4 separate regions of the Homo sapiens genome follow, and regions 2, 3 and 4 are each linked to region 1. Evidence: promoter capture Hi-C in 16 types of primary human blood cells and fetal thymus (Javierre and others, 2016). All regions are on one chromosome and are shown on one strand. Each heading gives the region's core, a stretch centred on a gene start or on the middle of the fragment in contact. The rest is flanking DNA. Distances are from core to core; before and after follow the strand shown. Region 1 holds the start of KDM7A (lysine demethylase 7A). Region 2 overlaps HIPK2 (homeodomain interacting protein kinase 2). Region 3 overlaps HIPK2 (homeodomain interacting protein kinase 2). Region 4 overlaps HIPK2 (homeodomain interacting protein kinase 2).

Region 1 (3,384 bases), core at 520-3,019:
GTAAAACTGTACTTGAAAATTAAGTAAAACTTAACTACACCTAGCACTAAACACTGCAAAGAACATTGTGATTTACATGGTTTTCTCTCCCTGGACCAGTAGAGGGAGACTAAGACATCTGGCCTGGTCTTGTAGTGTTTCTGTAAAATTGGGGAGGGGGGGAGCGGAGGCTGTATTTAAATGTCCTGCTGTCAATCAAAAGACACTTCCTACAATCACAGTCACCATATCTGCTATTACTCGTGAGCGTGCTCTCGCCAAGAGACAACACCAAACGGGGCCCGGGAAACCGGCTTCAACTAAAGGTGACCGCAGGCTTTGCCACAACACCCAAATAAGGACTTTGGGAGCCCAACCCCAACTAGTTTCTTTGTTTAAATGCCTGTGAATCCCTCCCACGCCGGAGTCAAGAGGCTGTGGCGCCGCCCTTTATTAGCCTCACACTTTGATTACAAAACACACGAGTCGGCGGCCTGGCTGCGGAGGCGGCCCGAGCTCTCAAACGTCAAACCCGGAGCGCGGCGGCGGCTGAATCAGAGGGCAGCGTCCGCCGCCGCCGCCAGCCGGCCCCGCAGCGTCCGCCCGGCCGACTCAAGTTCGCCGGCACCGGCGCCCGGGCACAGCCGCAGGCGGTCCCGGTGTCGCCAGCTTCGAGCGATGGCAACTGCACTCTTTGTAAAGTTTAAGCCGCGGCGCGAGGGCAACGCAGGGGGTCCGGAGAAGCGTTCCCTTCGGGCCGCCGCAACCCACTCCATCTGCCCCAGTCCCGGCGACCCGGGTGTGTGCGGGGGCCCAGGACCGCGACCCGGGTCAACCTGCCGCCCGCCGGGGGCCCGGCCCCAACTTCCCCGGCACCTTTCAAGTCCCCGAGAGCGAGTGCCTCATCTGTTGCTCTGTTTACTCCGCGGAGCCCCGCCGAGCTGGCTGGCGCGGTCGCCTCTCCGGCCCGCCGCTGCCCCCGTCCCACTGGCCCAGGAAGTTTGATAAAGACGGGGAAGGGGGCGCGACAGGGACCCGCGGCGCGGAGGAGACGCGGGGCCGGGGCGACCCCATCGCCGCCCGGAAGGAAGGCAGGCGCGTCGGCCGGCCGGGCAGAGCGGCGGGGCGGCCGGCGACTCCGGCCGGAGCCCCGGGCGCGGCGGGGCGGGGCGGGGCGGCGGCGGCCCGGGCTGGCGAGGGGCTGCGGACCCGGCCGGCGCTCCGCCCGACGCCCCCGCCGCGCCCGCCCGGCCGCGTCCCCTCGCCCCAGGCTCCCCCTGCCAACTTATCCGCCGGCCCTCTTTGTTCGTGTTTGTTGTGGCGACTCTTCGCCCGGGCCAGGCGAGCCCACCGGCTCCCCTCTGGAGCCCGCCCGGCGAACCCGGGGCACCGCGCGCCCCACTGCCCGGCCGGGGGGCTAGGCACCGGGGCCCCCTGAAAGCTGGGCGCGGCGCGGCGGCCCGGCCCGAGGGAGGCGCGGGCGGCCGGCGGCGGCGGCGGTTGGTCGGTGGCCGGCGGTGGCGGCTGCGGGGCTGGAGGGGGTTTATTTACCTGCCGTGGAACCAGTCCTTGCAGATATCGCACTCGATCATGAAGCGGTTCACGTCGTACGGCTGCCGGCACACACAGTACACGGGCGGGGGCGGCGGAGGCGCCGAGGCCCGGCCGGGAGCCGCCACCGACACGGCTGCCGCGGCGGCTCCAGCTGCTGCTCCCGCGGCCACCGCCGCCGCCGCTCCGGCCATCTTTAAAAAACACACACACGCTCGCTCGCTACTCCGCTCGCCGACTGGAGCGAGCGCAGCCGCCAGCCAGCGCCGCCTCCTGCAGCAGCCGCGGCGGCGGCGGCGCCTCAGTGCGCGCGCGCGAGGCCGCGGCGGCTGGCGGAGGGGGAGGAGGCGCGCGCGACGCGCGAGGCCCAGACTCGGCTGCTTCCGGCGCTCGGCGCGGGGCCGTGCGTCTCGCGCACGTCTCTGGCGCCGGCGCGCGCTCCCCGCTCCTCTCCGCGACGGCCGGGCGGAGGGAGCTGTTGAAGGGCACGCAGGCGGCTGCGGGGGCGGAGGGAGCTGAGGCCCCGTGAGGACACGCGCGGTGGTGGCGGTGGCGGCGGGCGCGCGGCCGCAGCCGGAGGAGGACGGCGGGAGCGTGCGAGGAGCTGGCTCGGTTATTTCGGAGCGAGAGCCGAGGCCGGGGGAAGTTCCTGCGGAGTGCTCAAGGGCAGAAGAGGTGCCGCGTCCCGAAGAGGGGAAGCGGAGAAGTTTGCTGCTGCCCGGGTCGCCTCGCGACGCTGAGAGAATCGCCCAGCCCTCCGCAGCCGCCCAGCGAGAACCGGAGCTGCGGCCCCGCACCGGCGTGAGTCCAGCTGAGCTGACACGCCGAGCCGGTTGTGCCTTTCCGAGGGAGGAATGTGCCGTGGAATCCAAACTTTGGAAAACGTCCCACCCGAATTCCCAGCGAGCAGCAAGGAGACCAGAGCGTCGATGGAGCCACCGTTAGTTGCGGGAGGGCTGTCCCCAAGAGGAATTCATCACTGTCGTCCGCTGGGAGGGACCAACCTTGAAATGGGGTTGGTGGAGAGAGGGATAGAGAAGAGCCGGCGTGCTTATAAATAACAAAACTTAGCTATGAACCCTTCCGATTCCCAAGTGGGGAAGATGGGGTAAAATTCTAAGTGACTTCTCGCTCCGAAGAGGGATACCACAAAAAGCGGAGCGCAGGGTACTTGGCGTATAATAAGCCATCAATAATTTATGGGTGAAATTGAGAGCCAAATATAAGATGATAAACTGAAGAATAAAAACAGCTGACAAATACTGTATAGAAAAGATTGCGTTGGAATCATAACTGTGGATTGGAAGTGATGTTAAGGATTATTGGATTGAGTATTTGTAGCTGAATTTCTGCTGGCATTTCTATCAGTGGGGAAAGCCCTCACAGCTCCATAGGTAATTTTTGTTAGGGGAGGAAGAAGTGTTGTTCTGTCACCCACCCCCAGGCAAAGAGTCGCTGATCTAATTCTCCATTTCTTTCTTTCTTTCCTTTCTTTCCTTCCTTCCTTCCTTCCTTCCTTCCTTCCTTCCTTCCTTCCTTCCCTCCCTCCCTTTCCTTTCCTTTCCTTTCCTTTCTTTCCTTTCTTTCTTTGAAACGGAGTTTCGTTCTTGTTGCCCGCGCTGGAGTGCAGTGCAGTGCTGTGATCTCGGCTCATTGCAACTTCCACCTCCCGGGTTCGAGGGATCCTCCTGCCTCAGCCTCCCAAGTAGCTGGGATTACAGGCGCACGCCACCGCACCCGGGTAATTTTGTATTTTTAATAGAGACGGGGTTTCACCATGTTGGCCAGGCTGTTTGAACTCCTGACCTCAAGTGATCCGCCCGCCTCGGCCTCTCAAAGTGCTGGGATTACAGG
Region 2 (3,384 bases), core at 548-3,047, 580 kb before region 1:
GCTCTTGTGCCCCAGGCTCTACAGGTCTTGTAGGAGCAGATGTCATGCCAGGATTCCAGCTGTGTTTGCCCCAACACACCCCCTCGCCTTCAGGGTCAAGGCCCTACTTCTGAGCTCTGTCTTGTGTCATCCCTTCAAAGGTACTTAAGTCTTGTTTTGGGGGTGGTGGAAGAATTGGTGTTTGCCACATCAAGCTTTGGTTTCCTTGCTAATGGTTATTCTACTGAAACATTCATTCCTTAAGAGTTTCAGGATCTAAAGGACCTAACCTTGGTGACCAGTGGTTCAGTTTTCCTTCTTTCCTCCTCTGGAAAAAGAACATGACCATCAAAGTATTTGTGTGCATATAATTGCTAAAAACCTTAAAAATGATTTTTCTGGATTTTGCCTCGTGGAGCCTCATGGGAGGCGCATTAGTCTAAATTGTAATAGAAAATTTGGAAAAGTGCAAGAGTTTTGAAAAAGCACTCTTAAAAAGAGAACTTTTAATCTTAATTTTGATCAACTTGAAATTCCTTACTAAATTAACCAGTGTGATTTTTGGTAACTTTAGGGGAAAAATACTTTCTCCCCTCCCTATTAGATCCTCACTGACTCTGGCACAGGGTGAACATCTTTTACCTGAAATGCTTGGTCCAGAAGTGTTTCGGATTTTTGTTTTCAGATTTTGGAATATTTGCATATACATAATGAGATATATTGGGGATGAAACCCAAGTCTAAACACAAAATTCTTTTGTTTCATATACACCTTATACACATAGCCTGAGGTCATTTTATACATTATTTTATAATAATTTTCTGGATGAAACAAAGTTTTGACTGAGACCACATGTCAGGTGTGGAATTTTCCACTTACGGCATCATGTCAATCCTCAAAAAGTTCCGAATTTGGGACAATTTTGGAGTTCTGGATTAGGGATGCTCAACCTGTAGTATCTATGCAGTGAGAGACTAACAGCAATGTATAATGAAACTCAGACTTTTATATGTCTTTAGAGATTCTAGCACCTTCTAGCTAAAGGGATGGCAGTAAAATGAAAATAATTCAATAAAGGTGGATTTATTTTCCTATCTAGCTAGTGCCAGATACATTGCTTGCTCCTTCTAGGGACTGGTAATATGTTTCACTGATATGATTGTACCATTGTTTGTACTTACTATAAACCTATGTATTTGTCGTTGCTAATACATTACAATTTTAAGATTATGTTTTTCACTACCAATGGTTTTAGTATCTCCACTTGGCATTGTTAAGGAAAAGTATGCCTGGCCACATCACCAACAAGGGAGAGACTTCTGGTCTTTCAGACTGTTTTGCTAAGGCATTGGTCTTAAAAATAAGCAAATACATACCTTTCACTATAATTATATCGATCTTGAAATGTACTGGCAATGAGGCTTCATGAAGTCAGCTGGGTGGTGAGTAAACAAAAAGGAGGGACTTGCTAAACAGGTTGGGAGGCTAAGGGTTCTTACTGCCCCTACTCAGCCAAGGTGAACCACAAAGATGCTAAGCTCAGTCCTGGGACAGAGTAGTGCTCCATGTGACCTTGCTGGGCATGACAGCCCATGAGGATTGAGACAGTGGACTTTGTTGCCACCCAGTCTAATAATGACATGGGTGAGCTGTCACAAGGCTGCCAAACAAAAGCGTTCTGGAAAGCTGCCAATGATCTGAGATAAATTTCCCTGAGTTGTCAGAAATACCCAAATAAGGAATCTTGGAGGATGACAACTTCAGCCCTTGGATGAATTTTTGAATAAGAATGAAAAGAAAAAGGCCTAGTTTCTGGTATCTGCTTATATGAGGAAGCAGAAAACCAAAATCACTAGACATTTTGTATACCAGATTTCTCTTGATTGACTTATCGCAAATAAGCAATTAAGCACCTCAAAGCTGTGCCATTAGGAAGAGATGCAGGAGCAATCCTGTAGTCACACGATCTCTCTCTCTCTCTCTGGCTTGGAAATCTCCATTTTTTAAAAAGTCAGGTTTATTAAGGTATAACTGACATATAGCAACATTTCTCCCTTTGAAGTGTTTGATGAGTTTTGACAAATGCACAGTCATAACCCCCCCTACAATCCAGACTTAGAGCTTTTCCCCTCAGGATTCTTCGCAGTCAATCTCCTCCTCTCCTACTGGTCTCTGGCAAGCCCTAATCGGATCTCTGTCTCTATGTTTTGCCTTTTCCGAAATGCCATATAGATGGAATCATACAGCATGCAGCCTTTTGTTGACCTTGATTTTTTCAAAGTGTTCATTGAGATGAGAATGGATTTAAAGGGAATGGGAAAGATTTGTGTTCTGCTGGTTAGTGTCTGGGATTAAACAAGCTATTGCTTCTATTTAAGCAAGGTGCTAAATCAGTTAAACTTCTGATCTTAGATACAAAGAAAGCACATTTCTTTAGTATTTTTTAAAACATTTTTAAACAACTTCAACATTTTAAAATATTTTAAAACAATTATTATGGTAAATTGTTTCCAAAATGAAACTTCAGGTGAAGCTGAGTGTTCTCCAGACAAGTAGAAAGTGACAAAAGATAATTTGCTTCACCAAACTTTAGTCAGGCTTGTGAACCTTCTCCTAGGTCTAACTGTGCACTCTGCTGTACAATCTACTTTTGGCAAAAAACCTTGCTAAGTCAGTTTAGCAAGAACCCACCATCCCTGATATCTGATCACCCTCGATATCTGATGAGGTTCCTCATCCTCCAGGTGTGATATCTGATCACCCGGGCCTGTCATTAGCAAGAATCCTGTTAGGTCAGTTTAGGCAGAATCTCCCTTACCCCTGATGCTTCCTCTTAGTAACTTCCCATCCACCGACACCCCCCAACCCTGCCTTGGCTATAAATTTTCACTCGCCCACGCTGTATGGAGTTGAGCCCAATCTCTCTTGCCCACTGCAAGATTCCATTGCATCCATCCCTACACTATTACCACGGTCTTAAACCAAGTGCTTCCTGCAAACCCTAGGCCAAACCAGGTGGTACAGGATGTTTTGCTAGTCACTGCAGGAAGAGGAGTGCCCCCATCCCATGCAACTGTCCCATGTTCAGAGTGGGTGCTGATACTCCCTAAACTACATTTCTTTAGCACTCACATCCCCTGGGATTTCTCTTCCCTAGGGTGGCTCTCACCACCTACCTCACAGATGACTGGTGCTGCTTACTCTTCCGGGAGGAGGTGGTGCTGGTTGGCTGCTGCCGCATCACGTGGGCCACACCCACATTTAAGGGCTGTGCTGCTGGAAGGGTCACATGACCGGTCAATAGTGCAGGCTGCTGCATGATGGGATTATAATGGCTTCCGTGAGCATGCGTATTTCTGAAAGGCAACCGGGACAACAAGGTGCCTTAGAGGTGTTCTAAAAGTA
Region 3 (3,384 bases), core at 380-2,879, 550 kb before region 1:
CTGCTGCACTCCAACCTGTGCAACAGAGTGAGACTCTACTTCAAAAAAAAAAAAAAAAAAAAAGAAAAAAAGGACAAATCCCATAACAAGAGTAGGGGAGGGATGGGTCCAGATTCCTTTGTACCGGAGTTCAGTTGTTTCAAGCATGGTTTTACATTAAAGAGGCACTATCTGTTTGTTGCAATGCCATTTGACTTGCTTCACTGATAGTAAGGCACAGAAATGAAATGGAGGCCCCACTATCCATGGTGGTGCCACCCACTCACTTCCTGTAGGCCAGAAAGGGGCGGGTCCAGCCTTGAGACCCAGCCCCCTCTGACTCTGGAGACAGCAGGGCCCGCCATGATACGCACAATTCTCACATCTCCAGGCTCTTCTCACAGGATTCCCTTCCCCTCCTGATCCTTATAGAATCTGCTGCTCTCTTGAGCACACCCCTTTTCCCTGCAGACGTAGGATGTGATTATTTATTCTTTTACATCCCAAGTACCTCAGGGTTGAGAGGCTGAAGTGAGACCCTCCATTACCTTCCCATCCACCAACGGCTTCCTATTTTTTTTTTTTTTTGACGGAGTCTCGCTCTGTCGCCCAGGCTGGAGTGCAGTGGCACTATCTCAGCTCACTGCAACCTCCGCCTCCTGGGTTCAAGCGATTCTTGTGCTTCAGCCTCCCAAGTAGCTGGGATTACAGAAGTGCGGCCACCACGCTTGGCTAATTTTTGTATTTTTAGTAGAGATGGGGTTTTACCATGCTGGCCAGGCTGGTCTGAGCTCCTGACCTCAGCTGATCCGCCCTCCTTGGCTTCCCAAAGTGCTGGGATTACAGGTGTGAGCCACTGCAACCGGCCATGACTTCGTTTCCTCTCCCCTTCGTTCACTGAGGCCTTTGCCACTGGCTGGACCTTCCTCTCCAAGCCATTCCCTGCCTCGCTAGGAAGGCTTCAGAAGTCACAGGTCCCTTTTTAAATACCCTGGCTTCCCGCTTACTTCTCATGTCCAGTGACTCTTGTTCTCAACCCAGTACAGCCACTCATTCCCTGGACCGTCAAACCTGAAATTGCTCCACCTCCAGAAACTACAAGTTTAAGCATCCTGTTTTCCCAGCCACATTCTTCCTCCATCTGGCTCATTCCACTATGACTATGATAACCCTTCTCTGCATTGACCAGAACACCACGTTTACTTGGATCCCCTCCCATCTTCACTTCCTTTCCCTTTGGGCAAAGTCTCCAATAGACATCATTCTGGATTACAGTTACTCTCTGGCTAGCCTCATCAGCTTCCTTGTCAATCTGTCTTCTTCTCTTACCAGCCTGGCAAAAATTCCACCTGGACAAACCTAGATCAGAAGACTCATCTGTCTTCTCTATGCCTTCACCTGGGGAGATGAGTTACACTATAAACGATTCATGTCGAACCTCAGGGCTCAACAATTCCACCGTATTTCTCTGGTCAGTTTGCTCTGCCACCTTCTGCTCCAGCTACCTAAACTTTCTACCCTTCTTAAACCACCCTCCACCTCGTTCTCAACAGATAACCTCATTGCCTACTTCTGAGAAGCAGAAGCTGTCTGACAGGACTCCCTCAACTTTTCTCCATGAGACCAGCACATACGCTGACATCCACATGCCCCTCGTCCATCTATCCTTCCAATGACACTGGCCCATCCCTGTGCTCTGAACCCTGTCTTAAAAACAATCCCCTTGACCCCTCCCCAGTCACCCCTCTATTTCTTCTCTTGCATAGCCTCACTTCATGAAAGGTTGCTATTTCTTCACCTCTCACTTGGTCTTTCAACCTGGTAAACTGGTTTCTGCTTTTACCACTCCACTGAATGGCTGCCACTGCGTTACTGACAACTTGTGAGTTGTTAAACCGAATGGACATTTTTTTCCAGACTCATTTGACTTGTGTGGCAGCAGACAGATCTTTGCTCAACACAGATCTAACCAGCTATTCCCTTGCTGAAGAATCATTTAATGAGTTCCCATTGCTTTTTGGATCAAGATTAAAAACCTTAACATGTACGGCCTGCCCTGGCTGACTGGATGCCTCACTGTCTCACCTACTGCCTTCTGGGATGGGTGCATGGTCCTGCCCATGGGGGAGTGTCCTGTCCATACAGGCAATGCCCTGCCTGCTCATGCCCATCCTCTTCCTCATCCTTCACAGGCCACTTCCTGGGAGTCTTCCTGGTTTGCCCCAAAATGAGGCTCCCCTGTGGGTATGCTCTCATCACACCTGATACTTGTCCTCATAGCAGCCTGGTGATTTGGGCATCACTTGTTTTATACCATTCTCTCTCTTACGGACTGCAAGCTCCAGTGGGCAGGGCCGTCTGCTCTGCTCACCACTGTACCCCGGCACACAGCACGCTGAAGAAATGAATGAACAAATCCAAACCCAAACTAGACTGGGTCCACTCTGGGAAGGTTCTGGGAGCAATCTTTGGCCCTGAGACTAGTTTTGCGCTACAGAGACTACCGTTTCGGGCACCTCTCTTCCTGCACAGATACCCAGAGTCAGGTTCATCCAGCTCTGTGCTCTCCTCTTCCCTCCTTTTCAGTGTGAAGCCAACTGCAGGCCAGGGACCCAGTCCAGCCACTGCCCACTTTCTTTCTTTTTTTCTTTCCTTTTTTTTTTTTTGAGATGGAGTCTCGCTCTGTCGCCCAGGCTGGAGTGCAATGGCGCGATCTCGGCTCACTGCAACCTCTGCTTCCCAGGTTCAAGCAATTCTCCTGCTTCAGCCTCCCAAATAGCTGGGATTACAGGTGCGCCCCACCACACCCAGCTGATTTTTGTATTTTTAGTAGAGACAGGGTTTCACCATATTGGCCAGGCTGGTCTCGAACTCCTGACCTCAGGTGATCCACCTGCCTGGGCCTCCCAAAGTGCTAGGATTACAGGCATGAGACACCACGCCCAGCCCTGCCCACTTTCATAAATGTTTCATTAGAATGCAGCCTCACTCATCTGTTTATGTATTGCATCTGTGGCTGCTTTCAGCTACAGTGACAGCTGAGTAGTTGTTACCAAGACCTTATGGCCGCAAAACCTAAAATATTTAGTGTCTGGGCCTTTAAAGTTTGCCGATCCCTGGTACGAAGCATCAGGCAGGACACCTACTGTGTGCTGTGGGGAAAATCGAGTAAGTGTGTCATGGTGACAAAGGGATGGTTCAGGGTTTCGATTGGAGTGATTCTCTTGTCAGCATCAATGGTCAGCATCTTCTTCAACAGGTCAATGAACTCCCGCCGGTCAGCCTTTTCTACCAACATGTCGCTCCCTTCCAAATCTGTCGTCATGTTCACCTGGACGCAAGTAAGGACAGGTTACCAAGGAAGACCCCAGCGTGCCTCCCCTCTCCTGGCTCCCCTTATTTTTT
Region 4 (3,384 bases), core at 75-2,574, 530 kb before region 1:
ATTACAGTGAAGCAGCACAGGACCCAAGAAACAGTGGCAGAAATCTGAAGAGCAGGGAGGAGGAGGAGGCTATTTCAGAGGAATTGGAGCCAGAGGTAAGAGAGAGCTGCACAGAAGACAGCCAGAAAGGCAAGGGCTGGAAAGCACCTCGGGGCAGCTGCATGGAGAGACAACACGCCCTGTGACCACAGGCAAGCCTGCTGGGAAAACAGGGGCAGCCTCCCCACAGGATGAATCCACACCATGCCTAGGGGGATCCAGAAGGTCCAAGTGGAGATGTAGATGGCCATTGAGGTGAGCTAATCCCAGGTCAACCTGTGATTGGATTCTTAAAAAGACACACAGCTTCCTAGGCAAACAGGAGATCAAAGAGAAATAGTTTTGTCTTTGATTAGGGTGATAGGCAGACAAGCAAAAGGAAAAAGGGACCCAGAGATGAAGCTCTAGGAGCAAAACATGGGGGAGGTTGACAAGGGGCCCACCCATTGCGCTGGCTTCCACGGAGCCATCCTTGGAATGGCCAAGCCAAACACCGTGGACCCCAAGATCTCTGTGCACTCTGCAGCAGGGTACTTTTGCCTGGTTATAAGCTGAAGAAATTAAGGTGGAGAGCTGCTGCAAGGGAACAGGGTTCCAACTCCAAAAGGAGAGCTGGGGGGACAGACACGACACCCAAACTTCTGGGTGGTTGCAGCTTGATGTAATACACGTAGAACCACTGTTGCAGAGATTTTCTACCTAAGGGGCCGCTACTGATGTCCATAAAACTGTGTGCTAAGGAGGATCATTTCAGACCCTCACTGATGATTCTGTCATAACTGAGTATCTTCAGCTATCACCAATACAAGTGCTGAAGACTTCAGAATGAACCATCATATCCATATGGAGGTTGATATAATTGCAGTTGGGTCTAGATGTTGACATCATTCTCATGGCACACTTGGACAGTCTCTTAAAGGATGCAGGCTTCCTTGATTCAACTGGCCATTCCCTGTATAATGTTAGAATCAGATTGGCGGTTTTTTCTATTCATATTGGCAGTGAACATCTTGGCTCTGAATATGTACTAAATACACACACACACACACACACACACACACATTTTCACACTGATCCTTCGTTCTTAGTCCTGCTCCAACTCTGCTAAGCGTAGCACCAAAATCTAACTCACTTGTTTACATGCCAGAGGAGAAGGTTGCATCTGCAACTGAAATGAATATAATCTCCAAAGGCTTCTGGTGATGTTGGTGCAAACTGGAAACCAGTTCTCAGATGTCCAGAGCATACTGGCCTCTAAATTTGTGGTTATGTGCTTGTGCATGTAGAATAAAGTGAAGAAAGTACAGCCAGGGACATGGATCCACCTAAACGATATTGACTTGACTTGGTGAAATAAGAAAAGCAAGAAGGGAAGGAAAGAAGAAAAAAAGAAAACTATGAATTGTAATGTCAATGAGGAAGGTTCCTAGAAGAACCAGTTTGGACTCCATGATAAGTATTTCAAAGATACTCACGCTGCCCTGTAATTCCTGAGATCCTTATACTCCTGACACGTGCTGTGCCTGCTTTACCCATCCCTGGCCTGGGTGGCCCAATATCCCCCAATCTGGTCTCTGGTGCTATACCATGAAGCTCTGCGTTGCTGGAGAAAGCCTGTTCTGACCTCCCAGCACTCTACCAGACTACAGTGTCACCAGGCCACGCTTTATGCTTGGTGACTTTTGTCAAAGAATGTGCTCAACAAATGTTTGCAGAAGCACCTATCAGCCAGAGAAATGGAACCATGTGTCTCTGCAGGTGCCTATCTATGTAATCTTTTCATATGTATACTGCTCCAGGCTCTTTTTAAATGTTTTTATCTTTTTTTTTAATTATGAAAGAGAATATATATACAAAGAAGTATACAACAAAAACGTATACCTTAACAACTTATTGGAAAACAAAGACCAGTGTCACTACCAGCCAGGTGAAGAAACAGAGCACTGTCAACATCACAAAAGCCCTGTGGTATTTCCTCCCATCCGCTGTCCCTCCTCCTCAAAGGGGCTCTGAAGTCACCATGTGTGGGAGGTGACATGCAGCCTGCACACTCAAGCCTGGGTATGGGTGCACATCGGTGTGGCAGCCCCCATGCCTCGCTGTGCTCTGCCACTGTGCTCAGATGAGGCTCCTGCCCAGGTGAGCGCAAAGGCCAGAGGCTGGGAATCCCAACACAGTGGCTGAGAAAGGAGCCAGGCCTCAGCCATTCTTTTATGATGGTCCTCATCATGGATCCTTTTGTTGACTGTTTTTCTTCCGATTCATTGTTAGTCTGTTGACTGAAGCCGAGGGTTGAAACTGGGCATTTAGAGCTGTGTTGGGAAGCCTGCTGATTCTGGGAAGGCCTAACCCAAGTCCCACTGTCACCTGCTGTCACTTTTCAGCTTTCTGGGACCACTCTTCTTTTCTCTGCACTGGCAAGGGATTTGGAATTTCAATTCCTGTGGATCAACTGCAGATGTGGCGTCTTCACTTTATTCAGCCTGGTGATGTTACCCACTTATAGTGATCATGAGATGTGAGGCTGGGGAAAAGGCTGGTCTCTTCCACACTAACACATTAATTCAAGGTTCACCCTCTACTCTAGATGGATGCATACTAAGAAAGTAACATCACTTATGTGCAACTTTACTGATTTAAATGCAAAACTTCTCATTGCTTCAACATTTAGCTTCGACTGGTTCATGGTGAGGCCTCAATAAGTGTTTGCTGGATGAATGAATGAACCAACAACAGGCAGAAGAAACACGATGCTTTCCTTTCCAAGGTTCCCAGTGCCTCCACTGGAGAAGCCCCGAATCCCCAACTCTCAGATGAGTGACTGTGCCATAGACAAGGCTCATCTTTGGGGTATTTTCTTTCCTTACAGCACCATCTGATCATGTGGCTTGTGGAGCTAAGTCACAGTCAGTCTTTATGGCTGACAGTCTGGGATAAAAGACAGAAACTTGCTCCTTCTTTGAAAGGGAGATACATTCAGTGTCACCAGCCGGAGACATACCAATTAAGAGAACAGAAGCCAGAAACTTGAGCTATGAAAAGGAACCCACTCAGTAAAAATGTCAAACACAAGTTAGAGAGTGAATTTCCATTGCAGCCTAAGGGATATTCCAATAAAACAGGTATCGTCTGAGGAGGTCTCCCCCACTGCACTGTGTGTTAGGTGGAAAACTACTGAGAAAGCAGGGCCGAAACCCACTAATACCCTACCTAAGCAACTTTCCAAATAAAGCCACTACTCCTGGCCGATGGAGTAGGCTCTGATCCTGTAAGTACAGGATGCGGCCTGACTCTAAGCAGGCAGGTGTGAGTGCGGTGAGGGGAGCCAGGTGGATGAGGCTGGCC

What was found. Contacts are between HindIII fragments. The CHiCAGO score rates a contact against its expected background, and 5 or more counts as called.
Region 2: a fragment that was not itself captured here is called in contact with the fragment with the promoter of KDM7A in region 1 in 2 of 17 cell types (monocytes and fetal thymus); the score reaches 5.2 in monocytes.
Region 3: a contact is called between a fragment that was not itself captured here and the fragment with the promoter of KDM7A in region 1, in 2 of 17 cell types (fetal thymus and naive CD4 T cells). The highest score is 7.2, in fetal thymus.
Region 4: a contact is called between a fragment that was not itself captured here and the fragment with the promoter of KDM7A in region 1, in 2 of 17 cell types (neutrophils and fetal thymus). The highest score is 7.7, in neutrophils.

What each region holds. Positions count from the first base shown.
Region 1 is chr7:140,175,214-140,178,597 of GRCh38, forward strand. It overlaps KDM7A (lysine demethylase 7A), which reads right to left and starts at 1,770. Exons shown (of 20, transcript NM_030647.2): 1 at 1,531-1,770. The coding sequence starts at 1,724. KDM7A-DT (KDM7A divergent transcript) reads left to right here and starts at 2,048. Exons shown (of 1, transcript NR_024451.1): 1 at 2,048-3,384. RefSeq lists silencers at 499-778, 789-968, 1,609-1,708, 1,749-2,178 and an enhancer at 1,403-2,326. The HindIII fragment of the contact is 8,961 bases long and covers 1-3,384 here.
Region 2 is chr7:139,597,262-139,600,645 of GRCh38, forward strand. It overlaps HIPK2 (homeodomain interacting protein kinase 2), which reads right to left. Exons shown (of 15, transcript NM_022740.5): 11 at 3,156-3,335. All of the region lies in intron 2 of LOC105375530 (a long non-coding RNA gene), which reads left to right. Among named protein-coding and RNA genes, the nearest start is that of CLEC2L, 75 kb to the left of the region's middle. The HindIII fragment of the contact is 3,211 bases long and covers 193-3,384 here.
Region 3 is chr7:139,623,476-139,626,859 of GRCh38, forward strand. HIPK2 (homeodomain interacting protein kinase 2) reads right to left here. Exons shown (of 15, transcript NM_022740.5): 6 at 3,126-3,310. Among named protein-coding and RNA genes, the nearest start is that of CLEC2L, 100 kb to the left of the region's middle. RefSeq lists a silencer at 2,914-3,124. The HindIII fragment of the contact is 7,682 bases long and covers 1-3,384 here.
Region 4 is chr7:139,642,310-139,645,693 of GRCh38, forward strand. The region is part of intron 2 of HIPK2 (homeodomain interacting protein kinase 2); the gene reads right to left. Among named protein-coding and RNA genes, the nearest start is that of CLEC2L, 120 kb to the left of the region's middle. The HindIII fragment of the contact is 6,710 bases long and covers 1-3,384 here.